Linked DNA regions of Homo sapiens: regions 1, 2, 3, 4 and 5 are each linked to region 6. Evidence: promoter capture Hi-C in 16 types of primary human blood cells and fetal thymus (Javierre and others, 2016). All regions are on one chromosome and are shown on one strand. The core of a region is centred on a gene start or on the middle of the fragment in contact, and the rest is flanking DNA. Distances in the headings are between cores, read along the strand shown.

Region 1 (3,798 bases), core at 842-3,341, 1.2 Mb after region 6:
CATAGTGAATAAACAAAGAACTATGTTTCCTAGACAATTCAAGGAAAAAAACATTTTTGACCTTAGTTTTTCAGATAATTTAAGCAAGATAATAATTTGGAGATATTTACCTCCGTGATTTTCTTGATTCCTTCCTTCACTCGTGCTACACTTGATATATATTTCTCTGGTGTTTATTGATTGTAGAGCCTTAGGATAGCCTTTTTTTTTTTTTTTCCTTATTCTGTCTCTTGCTGTCACCTGAAATCATGCTTTAGGCCTCCAGAGGATCAAGCCATAAGTTTTGTGGCTCATAGCCCTCCATAAAATTAAAGCATCTGTGTATTAGTCTGTTCTCATGCTGCTATGAAGAAATACCTGAAACTGGGTAAATCATAAAGAAAATAGGTTTAATTGACTCACAGTTCTGCATGGCTGGGGAGGCCTCAGGAAACTTAAAATCATGGCAGAAGGCACCTTTTCACAGGGCGGCAAGAGAGAGAATGAGTGCCCAGCAGAAGGGGGAAGCCCCTTATAAAACCATCAGGTCTTGTGAGAACTCACTCACTATCACAAGAACAGCAGCATGGGGTTAACTGCCCCTATGATTCAATTACCTCCCACCAGGTCCCTCCCATGACATGTGGGGATTATGGGAACTACAAGATGAGATTAGGGTGGGGACACAGCCAAACCATATCAATCTGTATTAGTTTTCTATAAGTGCTGTAACAAATTACCACAAACTTGGTAGCTTAAAACAACAGAAATTTATTTTCTCACAGTTCTGGAGGCCAGAATTTCAAAATCAGTATAACTGGGCCAAAATCAAGGTGACGACAGGGTGGTGCTTCCTTGGAAAGTTTTAAAGGAGACTGCATTTTTTGTCTCATCCAGCTTTTGGTGTCTGCCAGCATTCCTTGGCTCGTGACTACATCACTCCAATCTGCCTCCTTGGCCTTCTCCTCTTTTGCAGTCAAATGTCCCCCTTTCTCTGTCTTCTAAGGACACTTGTAATTGCATTTAGAGCCCTCTTGGACAATCCAGGATAATCTTTCCATCTCAAGATTCTTAATTATATCTGCAAACTCATTTATGCCATATAAGGTAACACTCACAGATTCTGGGGATTAGGAAATGTATAACTTTTAGGAGCCATTATTTAACCTACCACAGCATCTAACAAGGAATCAAGAATACTGATGAAATGGAAAAATGAAGACATTCATTATCTCTTGAAAAATGTCCTTCACAATCTGTATTTTTAAAAATCTTATCTTTTGCCATTTGAAATATTAATATTTGCATATCAAATATTCATATAAATTAATTCAGACTGATATCCTTTATAGAAGATTCCAAAAATGAATTCTAAGGAAAAAGTCCAATTTATCACATATATCAATCCTTTTCACACATAGCCTCATGAATAACCACTTGACACTGAAACATGAATTCAGAAACTATTATTATTTTGGCACAGGAACAAACTTCAGAATCACAGCATGCAGATATCTATTAACTTTTATTCAAGTAAAAGTTTTAAACACCTGAATAACTTATGGATACAAACGGACATCGGTTTCATATTGCTTCCATATGTAGGAACTAGTCATTTCAGCAAATTACAAATAGATCAGGATTTAATAAACTGAATCTGCAGTCAAGAAGAACCTATGATTTAGACTGCATAAATGAACTAAAATGACATTTGCAATATTGTTCAGCATTAATTTGGGTTGATATGGAATTGTCAATTATTTTCCAGTTACAAATAACTGTACATTCTTATAGAAGATTATTTACAACTGACTTACTCTATTAGAGCTCTGTTAACTGAGAGACTAGTCTCTAGTTAGAGACTAGTTTAGGACATTCTAGTCCTAAACTGTAGACATCCTCAATATTCCTCAATATAGATTATTCCACCATTACTTGACACCACCAGACAGGAAGATGAGGATACATAGATATAGAGCTGTTTTGTTTTTAACAATAACATGATACATGCTTTTATTGTATGCCAAATAGGTGCCTGCTAAGGCTTTGTCTATATGTTGTTAATGAATTACTTTTCAATATTTCTCACTTTGATAATTGGTTTCTATATAAGCCATGTAACTAATAACTGTTAAATGTTAATGCCACTATATCACCCACTTCACCATCCAGTATTTTCATTATAAACTCCATACATCTTTTTTATTATAAATTTCACATACATACCATTGATTATTTGTTGCAGTCATCAAAGATTGCTATCCTATAGTAAATACATTTCTTTAAATCATTGCAATTGGAATGCAAATGAAGGATAAATATGATTGTACTTGAGAATAGTAAAATTCATAGAGACAGAATAGTGGTTTTCAGGGGTAGGAGGGAGGAGGGAATGGGGAGTTACTGTTTCATGGGTACAGAGTTTCAGTTTGCGAAGATGAAAATGTTCTGGAGATGGATGGTACAATGGTTGCACAACAATGTGAATGTACTTAGTGCCACTGAATGTACACTTAAAAATCATTAAAATGGTAAATTTCATTACGTATGTCTTGCCACAATGAAAACAAAATGCTTTTGTTTGTTCACTGCTGTTATGATAAAGATCTCAACACCTGACATCCCCTACAAGGCCCAATATGATCAGACCTACCATTCCACCCCGAGGTTTTTATACTCCAGTTACACTAACTGTCTTTTTTCAAGTTATTGATGACACTAGATTCCTTCTTACTTTAAACTTCCCTTAACGTTCTTTCTGGAATGAAATGCTCCTCCTCTCTTTTCACCTGGCCAGGTACTATTACTCATTGTTTTATCCCTCAGCTTACATAGCACTTTCTCCAGGATATTGTCCATGACTCTCTCCAATGATAGATCCTTCTATTTACAATCTAACAGCACCTATACTTCTTTGTTGCACTTATCACAATTATGATTTATTATTCAGTATCTGTCTCCTGCAACATATTGCAAGATCTGTGAGACCAGAGACTATTTTGCTTTTTTTTTTTTTTTGAGACGGAGTCTCGCTCTGTTGCCCAGGCTGGAGTGCAGTGGTGCGATCCTGGCTCACTGCAAGATCCGCCTCCCGGGTTCACGCCATCCTCCTGCCTCAGCCTCCTGAGTAGCTGGGACTACAGGCACCTGCCACGACACCTGGCTAATTTTTTGTATTTTTAGTAGAGATGGGTTTTTACCCTGTTAGCCAGGATGATCTCGATCTCCTGACCTCATGATCCGCCCACCTTGGCCTCCCAAAGTGCTAGGATTATAGGCGTGAGCCACCGCGCCCGGCCGAGACTATTTTGTCTTATTCATCAAACACCTTTCAAAGAGCTGTCATTTAGTACAAGTTCAAAACATATTTATAGAGTTAATGAATCAATACACGAACGAATACATCTAAATGGTAAAGAATAATTCATTAATGAAATAATGAGGGCCGGGTGTGGCGGCTCATGTCTGTAATTGCAGCACTTTGGGAGGCCGAGGAAGGCAGATCACTTGAGGTCAGGAGTTCCAGACCAGCATGGCCAACATGGCGAAACGCCATCTCTACTAAAAATACAAAAATTAGCTGGGCATAGTGGCATGTGCCTGTAATTCCAACTACTTGGGAGGCTGAGACACGAGCATTGCTTGAACCCCAGAGGTGGAGGTGGAAGTGAGCCAAGATCGTGCCACTGCACTCCAGCCTGGGTGATGGAGTGAGACTGTCTCCAAAAAAAAAAAAAAAAAAAAAAAAGTAAGGATTACCACTTAAAAGGTATTTCAAAGAAAAGGAAAATACATAATATGTACTTATCATTTTAAAAA
Region 2 (3,602 bases), core at 876-3,375, 1.1 Mb after region 6:
AAGTGAAGTACTGAGAGATAAGTGAACTTTTAAAAGAGAATTGAGTTGGGGTTTTTTTATTTCTTATTTTTATTTTTTGTTTTGTCTTTTATTGCTTCTGTCCTTTATCACATTTAAAAATTCCTCTCATTACAAAGGTCCCCAAAACCACCAAATTTGGTTCTTTCCAGGAGTATCAAATGATTTGGACATCTTTAGTCATGAGAGAGTAGTAAACAACAGTACTAGATAACACTGACTACTCATGTCAGTTTCATCAAGGCTAATAACTTTATGGGTAGAGAAACTGAGTTATTTTGCCAATTTTATAATGAATTTTCTTAAACCAAAACCCTGACATATTTGTGCAGCAGTGTCTTGAGTTTGTATCCAATAAGATCTATTTGAGGAAATGTATTTTGAGGAATACAAGAATTGACAAGATTAAAATTTATTTGATGTCTAAATAAAATACATTATTTGTAAAGTAGTTTAAATGCAAATGCACATGACTGACTTTTAAAGTCATGTTTAATTTTGATTTACATAATTTTAAAATTACTAAAATGCTCTATTTTGAATTTTAAGTATTTGTGTTTAATTCATATACATTAAATGTTTAGGCAGACATCCAATAAATTTTTTTTTTTTTGAGACGGAGTCTTGCTCTGTCTTCCAGGCTGGAGTGCAGTGGCGCGATCTTGATTCACTGCAGCCTCTGCCTCCTGGGTTCCAGCGATTCTCCTGCCTCAGCCTCCTGGGTAGCTGAGATTACAGTTGCACGCCACCATGCCTGGCTAATTTTTGTATTTTTAGTAGAGACGGGGTTTTGCCATGTTGGCCAGGCTGGTCTCGAGCTCCTGACCTCAGGTGATCTGCCTGCCTCGGCCTCCCAAAGTGCTGGCATTATAGGCGTGAGCCACCACGCCTGGCCAATAAATTAAAATTACTTCTAATTTGCCATTATTTCTAAAATAATCCGAGTTTTTTTTTGTTACTGTTTTGAAAATATACTAAGAGAAGGAATCTGCTAAGTTTAAAAGTTTAACATGCCTTCCACTACTATGGCATTTAGTTTGTGAATCAATGTGTATGTATTACTAAGGTGCTATCAATCTTATGAAATTATCTGGGAGGATAACTATACAGTGTTTGTCTCTTCAGTGTTATATACACTTTTGGTTTTAGGGTGGAATACTCTCTTAACGTTGTAATAATTGATTTTAGATAAACTATTTTTTAAAAAGGAGTAACATGAACTAGAGCTGCTGCTTCTTGCTACACCTTTCATCTATATCCTTCTGCCACTTATGTGCATTTCCATTTTAAGGTCAGAGACAGCGGTAGCATTACTATAGCTTTAAGTTCCTTTTTTGTCAATTTATAAATAATACAGGATTATAGATGCATGTCAGAACTTTAAAGTAAACCCTGGCAAAAGATCCATATCATGGTGTCAAAATTTAAATATCTACAGCTACGTGATATTTTTACTATCATCAAACTTAATCATTAGATCCAGCTAATTCTAAACCTAGAGATTAAAGTTAGTAGGAAATAGATTGTATCAATTTCTTAGCTATGGGGACATCTGCTTACTGAGTACATGTTTTGGCATAATTAATTTTATTCTGAGAAAGTTGTTCTTGTCTAATTACCAGTACATTTTTTAAAACAATATTTTCTTTGTTACTAAAGATAGCAGCAAGCATATGCTAAGCTACCACTTGTGAGAAAAAGTTACATACCTTTTTTCTCAAAACTGAACAGAAGATATAATTTTCTTTCATGTGGACTTCAAATGCTGGCAAGGATGTGGAGAAAAGGGAACCCTCTTACACTGTTGGTAGGAATGTATATTAGTACAACCACTGTGGAGAACAGTTTGGAGGCTTCTCAAAAAACTAAAAATACAGCTACCATAGGATCTAGCATCCTACTGCTTGGTATATATCCAAAAGGAAATCAGCATATTGAAGAGATATCTGCACTCCCATGTTTACTGCAGCACTATTCACAATAGCCCAAATTTGGAAGCAACGTAAGAGTTCATCAATAGATGAATGGATAAAAATAAAAAAAGTGGTACATATACACAGTGGAGTACCATTCAGCTATCATAAAAAAGAATGAGATCCTGTCATTTGCAATAACATGGATAGAACTGGAGGTCATCATGTTAAGTGAAATAAGCCTGGCACAGAAAGGCAAACATCACACATTCTTTCTTATCTGTGGGAGCTAAAAATTAAAACAATTGAACTCATGGAGATAGAGAGTAAAATGATGGTTACCAGAGGCTGAGAAAGGTAGTGGGGGTAGGGGGAGAAAATAGAAAATAGAAAAATAGAAAGAATAAGACCTAGTATTTAGCTAGCACAACAGGGTGACACTAGTAAAAAAAATCATTTAAGTGTACATTTTAAAATAATTAGAGTATAATTGGATTGTTTGAAACAAAGGATAAATGCTTGAGGCAACAGATACCCTATTTACCCTGATGTAATTATTGCATACCTGTATCAAAAAATCTCATATTATACACCTACTATGTATCTCCAAAAATTAAAGATTTAAAAAAAAGAACCTTAGAAAAAAGGCACTTTAGGCTTAACAATAAGGAAGAAATTTTGCAGGAAATTTTATATAATATTCATTGTCATAAAAATAATTTAGTAGTTGTGTAAATGTGTTCTGTATATGTACCATGATTCAGTTAACCACTCCTTGATTCTTTGAACATTGTTTCCTTTATTATTAGTAGCAGTAGTGTAGCAATATGATAAACATCTTTGCACACTAAGCCTTTTTAAAATAAAAATATTTTAGAGGCAAAAAAAAAATTACAACTTCATTTACATCTACTTGTATTCCCAGCTTTTAAAGGGTAGGAGCTGGCTGGGGTTGGAATCCTAAAACACATATTGCCATTTCTTTGATTCTGTAAACAGCTGAATTAAGGAATAGTTCATTTACACACTAGGCAAAATACTTACTTACCTGTTGTTGCTAGGGCAGCATGGTAATCAGGGCTTTTGTCGACATCCAAAATAAAACTGTGGGAATAAAAACATTTATATTATCTCCAATGCAATGAATTTCCACAAAGCCTTTATAGGTATATGGAAGATGGCGGTTACCACAACTACAACTTCTGTTAGCTCTGAAAGTCACTGGCATAATCTAGAGGAGAAGAGAATTTTATTTATGGATTTTTAATATGTTATAACCCATGAGTTATGGCCATAGATAGCAATTTTACAGTCAGATGTAGACTTCCTATTTAGATTATAAAATTTCTTGCCAGGCGCGGTGGCTCATGCCTATAATCCCAGCACTTTGGGAGGCCGAGACGTGCGGATCACCTGAGGTCAGGAGTTTGAGACCAGCCTGACCAACGTGGAGAAACCACGTCTCTACTAAAAATACAAAATTAGCTGGGGGTGGTGGTGCATGCCTGTAATCCCAGTTACTCGGGAGGCTGAGGCAGGAGAATCACTTGAACCCGGGAGGCAGAGGTTGCAGTGAGCCGAGATTACACCATTGCACTCCAGCCTGGGCAACAAGAGCCAAACTCCATCTCAAAAAATAATAATAATAATAAAATAAAATTTCTTTTTTTG
Region 3 (4,068 bases), core at 539-3,038, 1.0 Mb after region 6:
CTAATAACAATCTAGTTTGGTACCTAGTTTAGTTAGATGCTGCTGGCAACCTCTCATTTGCTTTTTTCTTTTGAGACGGAGTCTCACTCTCCCCCAGGCTGGAGTGGAGTGGCATGGTCTCGGCTGACTGCAACCTCTGCCTCCCGTGTTCAAGTGATTCTCCTGCCTCAGTCTCCTGAGTAGCTGGGACTACAGGTGTGTGCCACCACACCCAGCTAATTTTTGTATTTTTAGTAGAGACGGGGTTTCACTATGTTGGCCAGGCTGGTCTTGAACTCCTGACCTCGTGATCTGCCCACCTCGGCCTCCCAGAGTGCTGCGATTACAGGCATGAGCCACTGTGCCCGGCCTTATTTGCTTTTTGATTATCTTCACTAGTAACTGTCAATATGACTACTCTGACATAGCACTCAGTATTCTTTACCTTATGTGACCATACTTACATGAGATACTTCTCAGAGAATTTTAAAACTCCAACAGGGCCTACAGAAAACTTATTTACATGCCTTTGTCTATAAGCCTTAGGGGCCTTTCAGCAGGTGTTTCCTCCAACAGCTGCCCCCCGCCCAAAAGACAGTATTTACTATGACAGATTCCTATTCAGAATATGTCCCTCTGGGGACTCCTAGTGGTGGTAGAGGCTCATGTCTCTTCAGCCTTAGAATCCTTCTGTGAGAGAAAGCCCTTGAAGGAAGCAGCCTTTGGCAACTAATGGCATACATTACCACAGGGCATGTGGGAAGAGATCTTTAAAAATGACCTAATAAGGCTGGGGGTGGTGGCTCATGCCTGTACTCCTAGGCCAAGGCAGAGGGACTGCTTGAGCCCAGGAGGTCAAGGATGCAGTGAGCTATGATTGCACCATTGCAGTCCAGCCAGGGCGACAGAACGAGACCCTGTCTTTAAAAAACAAAAACAAACAAACAGATAATCCCATCCTGAGGTGATCTGTCTGCTGTGAATTCCCATAACACTGCTTATTCTTCATTTGGTACTTACAGTAGAGAATAATACTTCTCAGTCTGAAGGGGAAGAAACTTCTGTCAACTCTTCCTCTGTACTCCATGGAAGTGTGACAAATTTGATTGGCCAAAGTCCAGAACATTCATTGGTCTACATTTTACTAGTAACATTACACAAATTCTTCCCTCCTTGTAGTTTCCCTATCACTGTCTACTCTCAATCCCAGTGGACCTTTTTTATTATAATACTTCCTAATTTCATGTAGTAGGGAGACCAACCCATTCTATTGTGCTGACCTGCAGTCAAGCATGTAAAAGGCAGGCTTGTGGTCTTCACAGCATTAACAGTCACACGGACTTGGGGGTCTATTTAAAAGATCCAGCTTTTAGGTTCAGTAAAGTGCACAGAATTCAAGATTTAAACTTAGTGTGAGAAAGAAGAGGTTGCATTTCTGCTTTAAGGCAATCTACCTTAGTTACCCCAAGCTTCTACTAGAGAGCCTGCCATGTTGGGGGTTATCAATTCCACCACCAATCAAGTTGATACTTTGATCCTCATTGGATGCACAATCCTTGTTTGTACTTGTTATTGGCCAGAACTTAGAAGAGTCTGAACTTGTATCATTTATCATAACTTGCCTTATATTTTGTGTCCTTATTAGGTTTCAAACTGTCATAATACACAGCGCTTTGTTCATACTAAGCCTCATCCTTGTGTTACCCAAGTGATTCATCCACATTGTTACTAAAGTATCCCAATATCCCGTTATCATTAGCCAAAATGTTTTTCTCTTCCCATCTTTTGATGGTCTTAGCACTCTGGCTGTGGCCTCTGGGTTGCTGTCACCCTTACTTTCTCTCTTATTCTAGCATTGTTTCACAAAGGCTTCACTTTTTAAAGGCTCTGGGAGTGAATCTGTATGGGACAGTCCTCCCCACTGAACAATTACAGGTCAAGAGGAATAATCACTGAAGTGTGACAGAGGGCTGGAGCAGTTGTGCAGGTAGGGAAGTTGGCCACGGTGATATCAGGAGTACTGTCAGGTTTCTAGGGCATAAGGACAAAATCAGGAGTTTCATTCACATCCTCCCTTACGCATACCAGTCAGGCAGCTATGACAAATATACAAAAGAGCAATGAGAGAATATGGGGGAGAGGGATTTGGGGAAGCTTATGCAGAAGATGAGTTCTAAGCAGGTTTTGAAAGACGGGTAAAATTTTGACAATAATGAGGGAAAAGGCATGCTAGGTTGAGCAGACAAGACCCAAGGTAAGGACATGAGAAAGGCACTTTCTGGGGAAGGTGTCTGAGAAATGGCAAGTAATCTGGAATGAATAAGGCACAATGAAGAAACTGGAAAGGTAAGCTGTGGGCAGATCAGGGAGACTCCTGAATGTCAGTTTAAATTTGGATTTTATCATACATATGGTAGAGTGATACCTTCTAAAGCATACATTTGTCCAGTAGCAGGATAGGCTGTAGGGGAAAGGGACCAAAGTGCAGACAGGTAGGTTACAATAGGGACAATGATAATCTGGAAGAGAGGTAATGGAGAAATAAACTGGTACAGTGGGTGTGGAAAGGAGAATTAAGCATTCTCAGAAGTAATATAATCTGGCAGCGTTTGGATGTGGGGACAAAGAGAGAGAGAATTTGACCAATGGAATGATATAATCCCTAGAAAGGTAGAAGAAAAACATCTTTGGAGGGGAAATGATGAAATCAGTATACTTGGGGGACATTGTATGGCAGCTGAGATTGTGGGTTTATAGCCCAGGAGACTATAATAATTTGGAAACCATATACACTAAAGTGAAAAGTCAGGGAACGAAGGAGATAATGAAGGAAATGCTCAAAGTGAGATGAAAACATGGTGAAAGGCAGAACTGAGGGAAATGCCTCAAAGGTGAAGTCACTTAATTTCACTGTCATTGCTCTTTTGCTTCTCACTGAAAGGGAAGTTGACTGGTAGCTCAACCTTAATTCTTTCCAGTTTCTTGAAAGTATTACTCAAAGACTCAAAAGAACACCCCAAAATGTGGTTATCTTTACTAAAATCCATTAACACAAAGCTATTCTCAGTACTCTGAATTCCCTGTAAGTTTATTACAGAGATTATCAAACACTAAATGTTGCACGTTCATTTACTAAATGTGTAACTGTGACGATGTATCTATGATCACCACCTAATATGTTCTCTGTTGGATTTTCATGGGTCAGAAATTTTGTAAAATGGTAACCTTATAATGAATGAATATAAGTGTATGTGGATGGATATATATAAGATATATATATCCTATATATATATTACATATAGGATATATATATTACATATAGGATATATATATTACATATAGGATATATATGTATATATGTACATATATGTAGGATATTACATATAGGACATATATAATCTATTACATAATAGGATATATATATATCTCCTATTACAATATATATATATCTCCTATTACATATAGGAGATATATATATATCTCCTATTACAATATATATATATCTCCTATTACATATAGGATTTATAAGGATAATATTTATATATTATCCTTACTTAACAGGATATAAAAACCTTGGCCAGTAGTGAAACCTGACATTCACAGATTACTACTGGGTGGTGGCAAGAGCACAGGCACTGGCACCAGACTACTCAGTTTAGTATCCTGGCCCTGTTTTAGGTGATTCTGGGACAAGGTACTTAACCTCGTTTGTGCCTCAATTGCCTTACCTATAAAATAAAAGTAATAACTGTATTTGCCTCATACGTTGTTGTGAAGATTAAATGGGATACGTATAAAGTGTTTATAACACTGCTGGCACATAGAAATTACTCAATAGGGCTGGGCACGGTGGCTCATTCCTGTAATTGCAGCACTTTGGGAGGCCGAGGCAGGCAGATCACTTGAGGTTAGGAGTTCAAGACCAGCCTGGCCAACATGGTGAAACCCCATGTCTAATAAAAATACAAACAATCAGCCGGGCATGGTGGTGCTCAACTGTAATCCCAGCTACTCGGGAGGCTGGGGCAGGAGAATCACTTGAATACAGGAGGTGGAGGTTTCAGTGAGCCGAGATCGTGCCACTGCACT
Region 4 (3,689 bases), core at 1,172-3,671, 1.4 Mb before region 6:
AATCTTATTCCTGTCTGTTGTAAAAAGTCATTTCACTGTAATAAGTATCTGCTTTCCCAAAGCTGAAACTACACAGAACAGCCTGTGCCCTGCAATTGACTCAGGGAGATACCCACATTCTGAAGTACTGAGACTGGGACTTGGGAAGGTCAATGCTCTGATTCAACACAGGTGATATGAAGAACAGTAATGAGTTTCAAAGTGGCCTATAGGCCTGGTGCGGTGGCTGACACCTGTAATCCCAGCACATTGGGAGGCCAAGGCAGGTGAATGGTCATAAGTTCGAGACTAGCCTGGCCAACATGGTGAAATCCTGTCTCTACCAAAAATACAAAAATTAGCCGGGCGTAGTGGTACATGCCTATAATCCCAGCTACTCGGGAGGCTGAGTGAGGCAGGAGAATTGCTTGAACCCAGCAGGCAGAGGTTGCATCGAGCTGAGATCACACCACTGCACTCCAGCCTGGGTGACAGAGCGAGACTCTGTGTCAAAATAAATAAATGACCAAAGTGGCCTATAGACTGGATCACAGCTCTGCCCTTTATTTACCAAAAAAAAGCCCTGGATTGCTCATTTTTGGGAAATGGTACCAAAAAGAAGTAGCTAAGGTTTCCAGAAATATACCTATCCAATCCACACTCTTACACCAATCAATGTGTGTTTCCATGACATGGAAGTCCTAAAGTCTGTTCTCAAGTCACCCTAGCTATGTGAAGATGATGAAATGAGAAACATTAAAATTCTAGAATGAAGATAGTAATTTCAGGAAGAAAATTTATCAGCTTAATGTTTGAGCTAGGGTATATGTTCTTTGAACATTATCCTCATGATTTTATTATAACGAAACTAAGGCATGAACTTGAAAAATGGGAGAATGGGAGAAAATTTTACCCTAAAACTAATAATGCAAATGTTGGGAGAAATACTCTTGTATTTCTCCATATTTCTGCTAGCACCTAGCACCTAGAACAGTGTAGAATATACAAAATACATTCCATTAATATGTGTTGGTTTCAACTGGTTTTTCTTTACAAAGCCCCCTTATCTAATTACCAACTGGTCCCCAAAAGCTAACAATCTAACCACCCAACCTTACATTTGGTAACTTTATAGTGTTAGTTACACAGTAGGGTTTTCCTGCTAACGAATCCTCTGTGGCATCTGTTTCAAAATGAAAATCTATTATATTATTAGAAACACTCTCAGTGTAAAGAAACCAGAGATGAATTGCCAAAGTCTGAGCTCACGATATTGTGTTGGCAAGCAAAAGCATCATGGCTGGACCCAGTGGGAGAAAGAAGATGGAATGCACACCTTTACATCCAATGCCCAACTCAAACCCTTCTATCAGTAACTCCACACCTTTTGATGAGTTCAGTTGTTTTGGGGGATGGAAAGGCGTTTTCTGGTTAGGAATGATGAACGGGTTGGTTTGCTACTTAGGTAAGTAAGAAGAAGGGGAACTAATGAGTAATTGTTGCACAATGACAAAACAACACTCCTGAAAGAAGCATAATTTGCTTCCCTGAACAATCCAGTCCTTTCATCATAAAATGTTCCTATTACATGGATACAGACCAGCAAAAACATTTGCTATACAAAAACACCTATTGTAAATAATTTCCATAACCAGATCGACAAAGCTCTATGACTATAGTTTAGATGCCAGGATTTGACAATAGCTAGATTATACTAAACTTTTCATTGTAATGTATACACTAAAATGACATTTGGTCAGTTTGGTCATAAAATAAATATAAATTATTGATATTTATAAAATTACAAATTCACTCATTCTTGGTTTCTCCCAATGCACCCCTGCTCCCTTCTTCCATCATCAATATTTTCCTAGGAAACATTATAATCTACAATTAACTGAGGCTGAAAACACCATCTTTTACCACATCTTTAGTGTAGCAAAAGTACCGAGCAAGCCACCCTTCTGCCTGATCTTTCTTGATAACTTTTTTAAGTACCCTAGAGCCAGTTGGTGCGTTCTTGGCTGTAATGCAGCCAAGTGGAATGCATTACATTCCACTTGTAATGCAGTGGAAGACACCTGGGTGTGTGCTGGGAGATCTGGGCTCTCCATAACCTGGCTCTGCCACTTCTCTATGAGACTTTAAGTGACTCACTTGATCTCCCTGAACCTCTCCTTCCTCTTCTGTGATGACAGAAGTTAGTCTTCCTTCACAAAGGTGTTGTGAGAATTATACGACACTTGATATTTAAAATTCCTAATCTAGTAATCTAGCACACAGTAGGTAAACTTAAAGGTAGATTAATGTTAAAGTTAGATTCTGACTGGACATGGTGGCTTGAGTCTTCAGTACCAGCTACTCAGGAGACTGAGGGAGGAGGATCCCTTGAGACCAGGAGTTTAAGGCTACAAGTATGCTATCACCGTATCGGTGAACAGCCACTACACTCCAGCCTGGGCAACATAGCAGGATCACAACTCTAAAAGAAAAAAAAAAAGGTAGATTCTGAAATATAGTGAAATACAGATCTAGGGCTCCTAGAGTAAAAAAAAAAAAATTTTTTTTTTTTTTTGAGACAGAATCTGGCTCTGTCGCCGAGGCTGGAGTGCAGTGCTGTAATGTCAGCTCACTGCAACCTCCACCTCCTGGGTTCAAGCAATTCTCCTGCCTCAGCCTCCCAAGTAGCTGAGATTACAGTGCCCACCACCACACCCAGCTAATTGCTAATTTTCGTATTTTAGTAGAGACAGGGTTTCACCCTGTTTTGGCCAGACAGGTCTCGAACTCCTGACCTCAGGTGATCCACCTGCCTTGGCCTCCCAAAGTGCTGGGATTACAGGCGTGAGCCACTGTGACCTGCCAAAAAATATTTTTAAAAGCAGAAAAAATACAGCAACTATGGCTTGCATCCCCATGTCTTTGTTTCCTCATCTTTAAAATTGGGATAATGGGCCAGACGCAATGGCTCATGCTCATAATCCCAGCACTTTGGGAGGCCAAAGCAGGAGGATCCCTTGAGCCCAGGAGTTTGAGGCTGCAGTGAGCTATGATTGTGCCACTGCACCCCAGCCTGGGTGACAGAGAGAGACCCTGTCTTTAAATAAATAAATAAATAAATAGGGATAATGTATACCATATGAGATTGTGAAAATGATAATTAAATCATTTAATAGAGGCAAATGATAATAAAAATAGTAAATAGTAATAGTAAGTCATCCACAAATATAAGATGTTGTTTGGTTTTTTTGGTTCGTTTTGTTGTTGTTTCTGAGACAGTTCTAGCTTGTCACCCAGACCGGAGTGCAGTGGTGCCATTTCAGCTCAATGCAACCTCAGCCTCCCAGGCTCAAGCCATCCTTCCATCTTGGCTGTCGAAGTAGTTAGGATTACAGGCATGGGCCACCACGCCCAGCTTTTTTTTTTTTTTTTTTTTTTTTTTTTTTGTAGAAATGGGTTTCTCTGTGTTGCTCAGGCTGGTCTCCAGCCTCTGGGCTCAAGTGACCCGCGCACCTCCCAAACACTGGGATTACAGGCTTGAGCCACCACATAGCCATTGTCTTTTTTTTTTTTTTTTTTTTCTCTGAGACAGAGTCTCACTCTGTTGCCCAGGCTGGAGCGCAGTGGTGTGATCTCGGCTCACTGCAGCCTCCACCTCCCAGGTTCAAGTGATTCTCCTGCTTGACTACTGAGAAGCTGGGATTACAGAT
Region 5 (4,073 bases), core at 1,525-4,024, 1.4 Mb before region 6:
TGAGTTCCCTTTCAGCTTTCTGCTTCTGTGAATTGTAAACTCATACTTTGCTACCTTTTATTTATTTATTTATTTATTTATTTGAGATAGAGTCTCGCTCTGTCGCCCAGGCTGGAGTGCAGTGGCGTGATCTCTGCTCACTGCAACCTCCGCTTCCAGGATTCAAGCGACTCTTGTACCTCAGCCTCCGGAGTAGCTGGGATTACAGGTGCCTGCCACCACACCCAGCTAATTTTTGTATTTTTAGTAGAGATGCGGTTTTGCCATGTTGGCCAGGCTGGTTTCAAACACCTGACCTCAAGTGATCCACCTGCCTTGGCTTCCCAAAGTGCTGGGATCACAGGAGTCTCCACCACACCCAGCCTCGGCCTTTACTTTAGTCAAGATTTTTTCTGCTGGTCATCTCAGCAGCTCAGTTGAATATCATTTTTCAATTGGACATCATTTTTGGTCTTCTGCAGTTTATTGTGGTGTGTCGAAGATAAGAAGGATGCGACCATATGCTTACCTTTGATTATGATTACAGCCAGCTAACCATCAACATTGTATTTTAAAAAACTGAATCCTGAAGCCTTTCCTAAGGCAGATACAATGGCGAGAGCTTTGGGGAGCAATTCTAAATGAATTAAATATTCTATTTAACTACTCATTAAGAGAATGACTTTGAGTAACAAACTCCCCATAGTTTTCTGAGCCTTAGTTTCTTCATTTTTGTGATGGGAATGACAAAGTCTAAGCCACTTATGCAGTAGGAAGGTTAAAGGTGATGACCTGTGTGGAAGGCCTGTGAAAGGCAAATTCAATGCCCTGCTAGTTATACTGACAATTCCACCCTTGTGATAATGCCCTGTCTTGCATTAGCCATACTCCTGACCTTGTTTTCTATCAGAACGCAAGTCTAGAAAAAGTAACCATTGTTCCTGTCATTTACATATTAATTCACCAAACATTTACTGAAGATCTACTGTGGCACTTTGCTTATAAGCTTTCAAGGATGAATAAAATAACTGCATTTTCAAGAAGCCCATAGCTCAGTGGACAGACACACAAATAAATAACTGATGTAGAATGTGAAGAGAGCGGTCTTAGATGAGTGTAAGATGTTAGAGAACACAGAGGAGATTGACCAATTCCGCCTATGGGAGTTGGGAAACAACATTAAATTGGTCCTTGAGAAAATGGGTGAAACAGGGAGACAACTTCAGGGTCTTCTGGGCAAAAAGAATCATACAAACAAGGAAAAAGAGGGATGAACATGTATGGTATATTTGGGAGGTGATAAAAAGGGAAAACTCAGTCATTTTTTGTGGCTAGGATGAGGAGGCAGCCGAGAGAGACTGAGCAGGAGGGGAGTCTGGAAAAGTAGGCTGATAAAAAAATTAGATATATTATATACCAAATTGGAGAAAGGCCATGAGATTTCAGAGAGAAAACAATTCAAATATACCATGAGATTGTTTTGTAATCTTGATTATTAGTTATAGAGAAGATTAGGCTGCTGTATCGGAGACCTGAAAACACTGTAGCTTAAAAAAAACACAACTACGGTAGCCTAAATATAATCTATGCTGGAGAAGCGGCTCTGCTCCAGGAGGTTATTTAGGAACGCAGGTTCCTTTCATCCCGTAGCTCTTTTGTCTCCCAGGGAATTGTCCGGGTCTTTGTAGTTGAAGTTGGTATTTCAGTATCATTGCTGTCTTTGGAAAGGGCCACAAGTTCAGGACAAATCTATCTTTCTTTCTTTCTTTTCTTTCTTTTCTCTCTTTCTTTCTTTCTTTCCTTTCTCTCTCTCTCTTTCTCTCTTTCCTTTCTTTCTCTTTCTTCTCTCTCTCCCCTTGCTGCTCCCCACCACCTTTCTCCCTTCCTTCCTTTCCTTCCTTTTCCTTTTCTCCTTCCCTCCTTCACTCATTTCTTTCTCCTCTTTATCTTCTTTCTCCTCTTTCTCTCTTTCTTTCTTTCCTTTTTTTTTTTTTTTGTGACAGGATCTCACTCTTATTGCCCAGGCTGGAATGCAGTAGTGTGATCATAGCTCACTGCAGCCTCAATCTCCAGGGCTCAAGCAATCTCCTGCCTCAGCCTCCTGAGTATCAGGGACTACAGATGTGTGGCATCATGCCCAGCTAAATTTTTTATTTTTATTTTTTGCAGAGACAAAGTCTATCTATGTTGCCCAGACTTGTCTTGAACTCCTGTGGCTCAAGTGATCCTCCTGCCTTGGCCTTTGAAAAGGCTGGGGTTATAGGCATGAGCCACTATGCCTGGCCCAGGACAAATTTCTTTTAAGCAAGTGTCATGAAGTTGCAGCCAACAATTCTGCTCACAGAACTTAATCATGTGTCATATTTAGTTGCAAGGAAGGCTAGGAAATATTAACTTTATTTTTATTTTATTAGGATTTTATTTTAATAGGATTGGTTCTCAAACATGGTAGGGAGGGATCAAACTCTCTTGAGGAACTTTTTTTTTTTTTTTTTTTTTTTTGAGCTGGAGTCTCGCTCCTTTGCTCAGGCGGGAGTGCAATGGCATGATCTCAGCTCACTGCACCTCCGCCTCCCAGGTTCAAGCGATTCTACTGCCTCAGCCTCCTGAGTAGCTGGGACTACAGATGTGTGCCACCAAACCCAGAGAATGTTTGTATTGTTAGTGGAGATGGGGTTTCACCATGTTGGCCAGGCTGATCCCGAACACCTGGCCTCAAGCGAGCTGCCTGCTTTGGCCTCCCAAAGTGCTGGGATTACAGGTGTGAGCCACTGTGCTCAGCCTAATATTGACTTTAAATAGCTCATCTGTGTATCTAAGAATAGAGAAAGAACAGATTTGGGAGTGGGGAGGCAATAGTCTGCCACAACTTGCTTATTTGGGAACCTCATCAATTCCTAGATTAATTTCGCTTGTAGTGTTTATCATTTATATTGCAATGTGTGTCCTTTGAATGCCTGTGTTGATTACTTTGTCTAAAAAGTGATTTGAATGATCTAGGATTTATACAGGCAAATCAAGAAAATGTGAAATATATCTCTGTGTGTCAACATTCAACTTCGTTCACAAATTAAAACTTAAGTTGATTATTAGAAAAATATTGCAATTTTGAATTATGTTTCTAATTCTGTAAAACTCTAACATTCTAGTTTCCATATCAATGTCTTGCAAGAGGATTAAGTTTTTATTTGGGTCAACAAAGCAAAATTCCTGGAAGAGCCTACTATTTTCAAGGCATAAAGCCAACCTACACAGAAACATGAGGCTCTCAATGGGGTTAGCAACCCAAATTCACCCTACTAGATTTGCACCTGATTTCCAGTGGCATGGTGGAGCCAAGGTTACTGGAATGCAAATTCACAAAGGTGGGAAGAATTGATGTAGTGTAAACGTTTAAGCCATGTGAACTACTATTACTGGTATTATTTTAATATTATTTAATATTAGGTTTAAGGATATTAGAAGCAGCAATTTGTGGAGTAAGTAGAGCCTATTTCACTAACAGATCTTATTATACATCTTCTGGCTATTTGAATTTTGAGAAGAGTCTGGGAAAAATTTACTCCTAAATTGCCTCTGTTGATCAAAGTCCCCGAAAACCAGTATCAGCGGAGGGTCTTCCTTGTTTCCTTACCTCTCTTTCATGCTCTACTCCTTCTTCCCTTTCTCTCTTTTTCTCATTCATTCCAGCGGTGCCATAGCTCAGGACTGCATCTTTTCTCATATCTTTCTAACCACTCTCTTTGCCTCCACTACTAGAATGATATTTCTAATTTGTAAATCTTATTTTGTATATCTCTTGGTTAAATACAGCCCCTCCAGTGAAGGTTCAAAGGGTTCACAATGCTCTCCACCACCTTGGCTCTGCCTGCCTTTCTAAGGTCATCTCTAGTTACAGTAATACTGTCCAGTGCCGCCTAAGGACGTTTCAGTCAATGAGAGACCACAGATACAATGGTGGTCCTATAAGATTATATAATACTGTATTTTTATTGTACCTTTTCTATGTTTAGATATAGGAATGCTTACCATTGTGTTACAGTAGCCTATAATATTCAGTAGAGTAACCTGCTGTACAGAGCTGAGCCTAGGAG
Region 6 (4,216 bases), core at 874-3,373:
CATTATCATACAGCCAATCCATCAGTAGAGCTCGTTGGCTGTGCTCAAAATATATCTTGAACCCTACCAGTTTTCAACATCCCACCATCTTATTCCAGACTACCATAATTTATTCCTTGGCTTATTGAACCAGCATCTTGGCTGACCTTTCCGCTGGTACTTTTCTTTTTTTGAGACAGAGTTTTGCTCTGGTTGCCCAGGCTGGAGTGCAGTGAGGCGATCTCGGCTCACCGCAACCTCCGCCTCCTGGGTTCAAGCGATTCTCCTGCCTCAGCCTCCGGAGTAGCTGGGATTACAGGCCTGCGCCACCACGCCCGGCTAATTTTGTATTTTTAGTAGGGACGGGGTTTCTCCATGTTGGTCAGGCTGGTCTCGAATTCCCGACCTCAAGAGATCAGCCCGCCTTGGCCTCCCAACGTGCTGGGATTACAAGCGTGAGCCACCACGCCCGACCCTGCTTGTACTCTTGAAGGTCAACGTGTAATCCCGCCACTCCCCAGCTCAGAATCATCTAACGACTCCCATCTCCTTACTCGGCTTACCCAGGGTCCTGCCTTTCTCACTCATCTCATCTCCTCCCATCTTATTTCCCAAATTGACTGCGCTCTAAGCGCCCTGGCCTCCTTGCTTCTTTTCAAAACACCAACCACATTAAGCTTCAGGACGTTTGTAACTTGCTGTTCTCTCTGCCCGCACCATTCTTCCCTCAGATTCCTCCAAGCTTTTTCATTCAGCTCTGCTCAAATGTCAACTCAAAGAGGTCTTTCCAGGCTATCGTATCTATCACTTATCTTAGCGTCACTTGTATCTCCCTCTCCAGAATGTAATGCTCCTTTATGACAGGGAATGCCTTTACATCCCTCGCGCCTTGAAAAATGCCTGGCACATAGTAGGCACCTTAAAAATACTTGATTAAATGGATTTGGGCTGAACGTATCCTGCTTAACTGCAGCACTTGAGCTGAGGTCACCTCACCAAAGCAGGCACACAAACACAAAAGGAAGCACACAACCAGATGAGGCCTGCCTGCCGCTCCTGAACCCTTTGGGAGGGCTCGCGCGGGAACCCTGGGAAGCTCCCGCGGCCGGAGCTGGGCCTGAAACTGTTCTTTCGTTTCCTCCTGCGGCCGAGAAAGGGAAGAGGTAAACAGGCGAAAATGAGGCGAGCAGGGGCTGAGGACCGGGCCTCAGCTCTACAGCATTCGCCTGAGCATGTATTGTTATCCGTGGCAGCGCCTTGTCTCATTGGATGGCCCTAGGCCTAGTGTGGCCGCGACTCCGAACTGAAAGCCCAAGCGCGGCGGCGTCCAGCCGGGCAGCCATTTTCCGAAGCTGCTCTCTTGGTAACCCCGCCCGGGCGCGTACGCACGAACGGAGGCGGGGCTTACCGCGAGGGCCTCGCTCCGGAAGCCGCACCCTCCGCGGCGTCCCACCGTCGAGGATTAACAAAACGCCAAACAAGATTTTAACAGTCGGCAGCGAAAGCGCGCACTCGAGCGCCAATGAGAGCGGAAGGAGGGGCACCGCGCCTGAGGAACACTCCGTATGTCGAACAATGATTGGCTGGAGCCCACCTTTCTTCTTTTTTGCTATTAGATGGGCTTGCTGCTCCCGCCCATCTAATTGGCTTTGGTCTAGGTACTTCTGATTGGCTTCCCCCGGGCGGTGGGAGGCGCGGTTTTGGGGATTGTTCATCATGGATTGGTGAATTTGGGCTCCTTCTCGAGGTGGTGGCCCATCCCGTCTGCTCTCTGTCCCGTCTCCCGACCCGTACGCTTTTCCCTCAACTCGCGCGCACGAATGGTTAAAAAAAGGGTGTGAGGCTCGAGCCCGCCAGCCAGGCCGCTAGCACCTCGCGCGCGCCCTCAGCGAGGACCCGCACGAGCTGCCCGGCTCTGTGCCTGCGTTGTTTGAAACTGTGGAACCCGTTAGGCTTTTGGGGAACTACAGTCCCAGCTGGCTCCGGAGCCCGTGCGTGCCAGGGGCGAGTGGCCGTCGCGAGACGGCTCCTGCCTTTCGTGTCTCTGCAGCGTGGAGACTGGAACCGGCAATTTCAAAGGACGCCACGTTCAATCGCAGCGCTGGCGCGGGCGGAGGCTAAAACACGGGGGTCCTGAGACTGAGGAAAACGCGCCAAGTTCCCCTCGGTGGCGGAGTGCTAAAGACCCTAGCGGTTCAGGCGTTCGGCGAGCGGGGCCGCTGCTTGTTGCGCTCCTGGCTCTCCCGGGGCGGGCGCAGATGGGCGCCGCTCCCGGGATGTAGTTGGTGTTGGTGCAAGACGGGAGCGAGCGGCGGTCGGGGTTCCCGCTCTTGGGAGCGGATGGTCACTCCCCCGCGGGGAGGGCGAGCCGACCAGATTTTCCTGGGGCCGGGGACCCGGCGGGCTCGGGGCAGGGACTCACCTGTCGCACCCACACTCATTCGGGTTGGACTTGCCGGCGTCACCGCCGCGGACTTCGCTTTGGGCCATGACCAGGTAAGGAGGGCCTGGGAGGAGGGGCCGGCTCCCGGGCGCGGGGGCAAGTTCGGCCGGCGCGGGAGAGGAGCTGCCGGGGAGACCCCGGGACCGTGTTGGCCTCGCACCCTGGTCGACCTGCCAGGGGGAGCCGTGTGTGCCTCGGGCGTGGCGCCTGTCTTGCCGCCGCCGGGACGCGAGAAGGCAGGTGCGGGCTGGGCGTAAATAGGCCAACTCCGCGGCGAGGGCGCCCGGCGCGGGGGTGTGGGCCGAGGACGCCGCCGCCAGCCTCCCCCGACCGGGCAGCCTGGTCGCTGCTCGTCCTTCCAGCTTTCTTTCCGTTCCCGAGAGCGGTGAAGGATGGGGAGAAAGAAACGTTTCCACGCAGGTTGCCCTGTGTCGGTAATTGCGAAATTTTACCGCGCATTTTCTTTCACTTACACTTTTTCAAGAAGTGTTTAGAACGCCGCGTGTCTTAAACCTTGGCGAAGATGTCCTTGTAGATTTTTGTTGAAAAATCGGAATCGAGTCGTGTCATCTTATAAAGAATTTAAAACTATTGGGACTGAGTGTTCACGCTGTCAACAGATAATGGTCGATTCGTCGTGCTTTCTGCGAAAGTTGATTTAGTTACAGGAGAAATATTTTGGATGTAACAGCCCCCCAGTTACAAGGAAAGCCAGGAGCAAGAAATAGCAAGGAAGATACTGCACCTGGCAAAATGTTACATTCTCGGTGTGAGCTTTGCTTTGAGGGGCTAGGAGGTTTGGTTTTTTGATTAAGCTGACGATCCGCTATTTCACCTGCCTAATCATTCTTCCCTTCTGTGTAGTCTGGTTACTCTGTCGGTTTGAGATCCAGTTTCTGTCATCCATTAAATTGGCTCTCGAGAAAAACCTTTTATCAGAATCATTAATGCTTGGCGATCCCTGAGAACTTAGCGCAGGTTGGTTTATCATTCAGAAGACAGCGCTTCCTCAGAAGCATTAGGTAGACAGGAGAGTAAGTGAAGTTGGAGACAGAATGGAGAGATGGATCAGCTTTCCAGTGCTTCCTGATTTGGGTCTCAGAAATGGTTTCAGTGTGCTGAGTTCAGTATGAATTCCTAGATCAGTGTCAGCCATGTGAAATGCTTATTAAGGATGAAATTTGAGTGAGTCTTGTGTAGTTCATTTTATTACTCTGCATTTTAAATTTGAAACTCGTTGCTGAAGTTTTGGGCTTTAAGTAATTTTATGGTAATACTCTAGTCAGATAATTTTTCCTCCCATGTCCTGAAAAATAGGCCTGATGTAGAAAATATTAACTCCTACACTCCTACAAATGTTGCCATTTTTTTTCACGTGCAAGTTTTACTTTAAAACAGGGTGGGAAAGTTGCAAATGGCAAACCAAATCATCTTTTTTTCCTACTCAAAGCACTATTTTTAAAATCCAAAGTTTTTTAAAAAGTTTGGAAAACGAGTATTGTGGTTTCTAGTGCATTAAGAATTGGATTTACACAAAGTGCATCGAACAGTTTTTTTTATCACGGTCTCAACTTTGCTTGTGTTTTATCTTTCACTTACGGTTTTAGGTATAACTTAACACCATCTCTATGCCTTGAATGCAAATTATTCTTTAATAAGCTTTTTAGGTACTTTATTTTCATATATCCATGTTAATAACTAGAAAAGGCATTGGAAGAGAGGACTCATCGTCCAGCACTACTTTGATTTTCCATTCATCCTTTCCTACCTTGTACTTGAGAATTAGAGGTGGTA

What was found. The method cuts DNA at HindIII sites, captures the fragments that hold promoters and counts their contacts. A CHiCAGO score of 5 or more calls a contact.
Region 1: a contact is called between a fragment that was not itself captured here and the fragment with the promoter of USP1 in region 6, in 2 of 17 cell types (activated CD4 T cells and total CD8 T cells). The highest score is 8.6, in activated CD4 T cells.
Region 2: a fragment that was not itself captured here is called in contact with the fragment with the promoter of USP1 in region 6 in 8 of 17 cell types (total B cells, naive B cells, activated CD4 T cells and 5 more); the score reaches 15.1 in total B cells.
Region 3: a contact is called between a fragment that was not itself captured here and the fragment with the promoter of USP1 in region 6, in 1 of 17 cell types (total B cells). The highest score is 5.1, in total B cells.
Region 4: a contact is called between a fragment that was not itself captured here and the fragment with the promoter of USP1 in region 6, in 1 of 17 cell types (activated CD4 T cells). The highest score is 7.6, in activated CD4 T cells.
Region 5: a fragment that was not itself captured here is called in contact with the fragment with the promoter of USP1 in region 6 in 2 of 17 cell types (non-activated CD4 T cells and fetal thymus); the score reaches 5.8 in non-activated CD4 T cells.

Annotation. Positions count from the first base shown.
Region 1 is chr1:63,586,027-63,589,824 of GRCh38, forward strand. No RefSeq gene overlaps it. Among named protein-coding and RNA genes, the nearest start is that of PGM1, 5.5 kb to the right of the region's middle. The HindIII fragment of the contact is 5,122 bases long and covers 1-3,798 here.
Region 2 is chr1:63,526,152-63,529,753 of GRCh38, forward strand. The region is part of intron 2 of EFCAB7 (EF-hand calcium binding domain 7); the gene reads left to right. It also overlaps a transcript of ITGB3BP not described here and the pseudogene RN7SL488P. Among named protein-coding and RNA genes, the nearest start is that of EFCAB7, 4.4 kb to the left of the region's middle. The HindIII fragment of the contact is 4,590 bases long and covers 1-3,602 here.
Region 3 is chr1:63,441,186-63,445,253 of GRCh38, forward strand. All of the region lies in intron 8 of ITGB3BP (integrin subunit beta 3 binding protein), which reads right to left. Among named protein-coding and RNA genes, the nearest start is that of ALG6, 76 kb to the left of the region's middle. The HindIII fragment of the contact is 685 bases long and covers 1,447-2,131 here.
Region 4 is chr1:61,045,164-61,048,852 of GRCh38, forward strand. No RefSeq gene overlaps it. Among named protein-coding and RNA genes, the nearest start is that of NFIA, 36 kb to the right of the region's middle. The HindIII fragment of the contact is 9,690 bases long and covers 1-3,689 here.
Region 5 is chr1:61,069,781-61,073,853 of GRCh38, forward strand. No RefSeq gene overlaps it. Among named protein-coding and RNA genes, the nearest start is that of NFIA, 11 kb to the right of the region's middle. The HindIII fragment of the contact is 3,582 bases long and covers 984-4,073 here.
Region 6 is chr1:62,434,926-62,439,141 of GRCh38, forward strand. It overlaps USP1 (ubiquitin specific peptidase 1), which reads left to right and starts at 2,124. Exons shown (of 9, transcript NM_003368.5): 1 at 2,124-2,475. RefSeq lists enhancers at 591-1,358, 1,041-1,390, 1,359-2,126, 1,951-2,020 and a silencer at 2,721-2,780. The HindIII fragment of the contact is 3,360 bases long and covers 720-4,079 here.